Regions from separate parts of the Homo sapiens genome. Here region 2 is linked to region 1. The links are contacts of gene promoters, found by promoter capture Hi-C in human tissues and cell types (Jung and others, 2019). All regions are on one chromosome and are shown on one strand. The core of a region is centred on a gene start or on the middle of the fragment in contact, and the rest is flanking DNA. Distances in the headings are between cores, read along the strand shown. Region 1 holds the start of CMKLR1 (chemerin chemokine-like receptor 1). Region 2 has its middle 14 kb from the start of FICD.

Region 1 (2,700 bases), core at 54-2,553:
GGTTTCTCTCCTTCTCTCCCTCCCTCCCCATCTCCCTCTCCCTTCACCTTCCCCTCCTCCCCATTACCTTCCTCCCTGCCCTCCCTTTTCTTCCTTTCTTTCTTCTCCTCCCTTCCCCTCTCTTCCCCTCCCCTGCCCTTCCCTTTTCTTTTTCTTTCTAAAAATATTATTTTAGGCAGTCGTAGGCAGTCTTGGCTTTGGAATCAGACAGACTCAGATCCAGCCATGGCTCGGTCAGCATGAGCTTGGCGCCCTGGGCAAAACGACTTCTGCTCTGTGGCCCTAGCATCCTCATGTGTAGAATGGGCAAGTGATGCCCCCCCGACGTGGGTGGTGGTTCACACGGCTTACTCCATGGAAGCACTTGGCACAGGGGCCCACATGGGCACTTCTGTTATTTCTTCAGTCTGGAGGCCAAGGGTGGGCCTCCGAGCCAGACAACATAGTTGGAATCCCAGCTCTGTCAGCTGCTGGCGGTGTGGTCTTGAGCAAGTGACTTAATCTCTCTGTACCCCAGTTTCCTTATTGGTAAGACTGGAGTAGTAATAATTCCTGTTATCTAGGGTTGCCGTGAAGAGTAAGTACGCATCGCCTAGCACGCTGCCTGGCTGTCGGTTGTTTTGATTATTCCACTAATGATGGTGACCACACAGCCGATGAACCAGGCACTTAGCGCCTGGTTAGGGCAGGGAACAGAATACAGTTCTTTCCCTACAGAGTTCCTGGTGCAAGGAGTTCTCGGTGCAAGGAGAGAGACATCTTAACAGGCAAGGACAGCACTGCATCAGTGAGGTGATGGGGTGACCCTGAGGGGCACAGCAGCCCCCGAGGGTTGGGGAAGGCTTCCCTGGGAGGTGACCTTCAACCTGAGACCTGAAGAGGCAGTAGGAGACCATCGGGCCACGAATTAGGGCAGGAATAGCATCCAGGTGGGAGGAACAGCGTTGCAAAGGCCCAGGGTGAGAGGCAGCCAATCTCTCGGTCAGTGTGGAGCTTGAGCCCCTCACCGGGAGCAGAGGCGCTTGCACTTCCCCCAGCAGCCGGGTGCTCAGATGTGCTCCCTGTTTGCGCTCAGTGGGCACGGCTCCCCGGCTGCAAGAGGCTGCCAGAGGGGCGGGTCGTCCCCAGCGGGCCCCCGCCGCCACCCACAAGCCCAGTCCCCGGCTGGTAGGGGCACCCTCCCCTCGCAGCCCCCTCTCCACGCAGCTAGCCGCCCCCGCCCTAGGTCAGCCCAGTTTCCTGCCCCTCCCTCCTGCTCTCCTCCCTCCAGCTGTTTCTCTGGCTGAGTTCTGTCCCAGTCCCATTCAGGGAAGCAGCCCCGGCGGCCAGCAGGGAGCTCAGGACAGAGCAGGCTCCCTGGGAAGCCTCCGGGTGATAGGGGTGTTCCAGCTGCGGCGCTCTGGGGGTTCAGAGGGGGATCTTGAATGAACAAATGAATGAACTGCTTTCTGGGCAAACAGCCACAGCCAGAGGAGCCTGTGATTGGCAGAAAGAAGCCAGGGTGTGCAAGTCTCCCCAACAGCCTCGAGTGGCCTGCAGTCACAGGGAACCCTCAGGAAGACCTTCCGGGCAGAGACCAGAGGGAAGGTATCATCACACACTTGCCTTGGGTGTCTTCTGAGGGGGGCCAGGGAAGGGGAATGAATACTAACAGAGAGAAAAGTTTGTTTCTTTTTATAATTTCATATTTGTTAAAAGGAAGAGTTTTGTTATTATTTTCAGATGTCAAAAGTAATGCATGTTCATTGTTTAAAGAAATAGCAAGGATACACAACTAAATATATGAATGTGGATTTCCACATCTAGTTTGGTAACCTGCTTAACCACAGATTGTGAACTTTTTTCCATATCACCTATATTCTTCCAATATACATTTTTCATGGCTGCATAGAAAGGCTATCTTAAGATTATTTGACTTTTCCATAATAGATTTGCTTCTTTTTTTTTATTAGAACAGTGCTGCAATGAATATTTAGTATGACATCTTTGTGTGTGTGTCTTATGAATACCTTTTAGAAATTGCTAGATTTAAGGTTTGCCTATTTTTAAGACTTCTGAGCTTTTGGTCACACTGCACCCTGGAAGGCCGTGGCAGCTTGACCTCTCTACGATGTTATACCAGGGCACAGTATTCTCACATACTAAACCCACCTTGTTGCTACCCATCCCTTAAACTTTCCCTGATGTGAAGTCGAGAATAATATCTAGATGCTTCAATAGGCATTTCATTTCTTTGTTAGTGTTGATTCTCTTTTATAAACTTATTTTTCACATTTCTAGTCTGACTCTCCTGTTCAAGTCTGTTCCCATTTTTTTCTCCTCTGGGGGCATGTTTATCTTTTTCCAATTGATATCTAAGGGTTCTTTGTATATAAAGGACACAAAACCTTTGCCGGCACTCTCTGTTGAAAATATTCCACTCCCTCCTCTGTCTTCAGAATAGCCCATTTTAAATGGGCAAGCCAGCTTTGGCAAAATTATAAGCATTACAACATCAGGGAACTACTACTTGATATAAGCCCAATCACTCAGACCTGTGCGGTTCAGAGATGCCAGATCACTGGTCTGAGGTCACACGCCTGAACGTCCAGGTTCTGAGTCTTTCTTTTTCTATTAGGGAAAGCCCTCAACTTCCCTTTTGCATCCCCTACCTCCTTCTCAAGACCAATCTTCTCTGTGGTTCTTGCTGTATCTCCTGCC
Region 2 (2,700 bases), core at 44-2,543, 160 kb before region 1:
CATCACCATGCCTGGCTAATTTTTGTATTTTTTTTTTTATAGGGATGATGTTTTGCCATGTTGCCCAGGCTGGTCTCATACTCCTGAACTCAAGCAATCCACCTGCTTTGGCCTCCCAATATGCTGGGATTACAGGTGTGAACCATTGCGCCTGGTCAGTGCTCCATTTTAATATGTTCTTGTGTGTAGCTGAGAGGTCAGCCTAATATCATTTGACCATTGACTGGTGTTGAGGCTTAGTTGAAAAAGTGGGTTAGGATAGAGAAACAGAAAACCTTACATTATGAATATTTTATCTTATCTTTTAACTTACACATACTAGTATTCTGTATACTAATTTGTACTGTGAATACTAATATTAATATTGGGTTAATGGTTGATTAACAAATGAGTTAATTGGGTGAAGTCTCACATTGTCTTCCCTGCATGAATCAGGTGATTTCCTTTTTTGGTTCATTTTGAATTTAATGAGAATTTAAAGACACTGGCTAAGCAGCATACAGAACCCTTCCAGATTTTTATAATTTTCCTCCCCCTCCATCTTTATCTTACAACTAATTCTTCATCAATTTCTATTTAGAAGCTTGCTTTTCTCAGGGCTATTCGAAACACTTAACTTAGTTTTCACAGAAACAACTTTTCTTTTTCCCTTCTTTTTTTTAGACAGGGTCTCACTCTGTTGCTCAGGCTGGAGTGCAGTGGTGCAATCACAGCTCACTGTAGCCTTGACCTCTAGAGCTCCAGCCATCCTCCTGATAACCTGGGACCACAGGCATGAACCACCATGCTGGCTAATTTTTGCATTTTTTGTAGAGATAGTGTTTCACCATGTTGCCCAGGCTGGTCTCAAACTCCTGAGCTCAAGCGATCCTCCCACCTTGGCCTCTCACAGTGCTGGGATTACAGGCATGAGCCACTGTGCCTGGCCTTTCCCTCCTATTTAATCCTACTACATACTACTTAACTAGTTACAAATGAAACTGGCATAAATAGGTTTGGCAGCAAACAACTGATTTTGCTACACATACAGCTCAACACGTGGCAGCTGGTGGCTTACTGGTCTCTGATGTTGGGTGTGCAGTGACTCAAGCTAAATATGAGAAAACATCAGACAAATTCAAGTTGAATGAAATTCTAGAAAATAAAGGCCAGTACTTTTCAAAAGTTATCGAGATCATAAAAGACAAAACTATTACATATTGGACGACACTGAGGAAATATGACAATGAAGTATTTGGCTGATTCTGAATTGTATTCTTTTACTAGAGAGAACTTTATTAAAACAATTGGTGAAACTTAAATGGGGTCTGGGGAGAACATGGTAGTAGATCAGTGTTCGTTGCTTGATTTTGATGGTTGTATTATGGTCCTGTAGGAGAGTTACATGCAATGTGGAATCCTGGATTGGATCCTGGACCAGCAAATGGTCAAAAAAATTTAGTTTTTTTTATTAAGTGTTCATTAATGGAAAAAACTGATGAAATTTGAATGTCCACAGATTCACCAATGTTCATTTCTTGGTTTAGATAGTTGTTGTGTTGTTATGCAAGATATCAACATTAGGGAACGTTGGGTAAAGGACACAGAAAAACTCCAGGTATTCAATTTTTGAGTCTAAATTTTTCAAAAGAAAAAGTTCTTGCTCTTTTTTTTTGAGGCAGAGTCCCACTCTGTTGCCCAGGCTGGATCACCCAGTGGTGCGATCACAGCTCACTGCAATCTCTGCCTCCCAGGTTCCAGTGATTCTCATGCCTCAGCCTCCTGAGTAGCTAGGACTATAGGTGTGTACCACCACGCCTGGCTAAATTTAATTAATTTAAATGAAGGCCAGGGGTTCGAGCTCCCAGGTGAGGCCAATGAAGTTGCTGGTCCACAGACCACGCTTTGGGAAGCCCCCACATCTTGGTTGATTTTAATTATTTATTGATTGATTTTCTGGGCATGTGAAATATTTCCATAACTCTAGGAGTCAGAGGTATACAAAAAGGTGTTCCAAATGAGTGTCTCTCCCTCTACCTCTCTTCTACCCCAAGGAATCTGTGGCCTGGGAACTCTTCAAGAAATGCTGACATGAAGTTTGAGAAGTGCTGGTTCAGAGAGGCTTGAAAAAGCACCTGGGCTTTATTTGGAAGCGGAGCAGCAGCTGATGCCTCCCTAAATGTTCTGCAGATCCCAGAGCAAAGACCTCTGAGTCTACCGCCCCACCCTGCCCAGCCACGGCTCACTCCTGCGGTGGGCTCTGCCAGAGGAGGAAGAGTGGGACCCTCAAGCTCTCTCTGGGTCCTCAGCTCCAGGTCAGATAACCATTTTTGGGAGAGGGTTGAGATGCTGCAAGGGGTGGCTTTGGAGGGAGCTCTGACACTTGGGAATTCTGATCATTTCTGGCACATCTGGGTCTAGGATTAAATAAAATATGGGTTACTTCCCAGGTGAGAGGTTCAGAAAATGGGAGGCATCTCTTTGGCCTGCAGCATGAGGATAGTTCAGTTGTCTTCCCTGTGACTGGAAGAAAAGGTGGCACTCTCTTTCCCAGTGTTGTCCTTGGGGCTGTGTCCCCCTAAAATACAAGTAATAGCCCACTTGGCAGCCCAGGCTCCCCATCTTGGTTATTTGGCCTGATAACCCCTGAAAACCCCCTGCTCGTCCCTCCTCGTCCCCTCCAGTTTTGGCTTCTCACCTGGGTGCCCAGAAAACTTTGCC

The links. The method cuts DNA at HindIII sites, captures the fragments that hold promoters and counts their contacts. A contact is called where the count stands out against the background at its distance.
Region 2: a fragment that was not itself captured here is called in contact with the fragment with the promoter of CMKLR1 in region 1 in 1 of the 25 tissues and cell types used here (H1 embryonic stem cells).

The regions. Positions count from the first base shown.
Region 1 is chr12:108,337,914-108,340,613 of GRCh38, reverse strand. CMKLR1 (chemerin chemokine-like receptor 1) reads left to right here and starts at 1,303. Exons shown (of 4, transcript NM_001142343.2): 1 at 1,303-1,587. RefSeq lists a silencer at 1,020-1,139 and an enhancer at 1,247-1,870. The HindIII fragment of the contact is 8,294 bases long and covers 1-2,700 here.
Region 2 is chr12:108,500,001-108,502,700 of GRCh38, reverse strand. No RefSeq gene overlaps it. Among named protein-coding and RNA genes, the nearest start is that of FICD, 14 kb to the left of the region's middle. The HindIII fragment of the contact is 6,085 bases long and covers 1-2,700 here.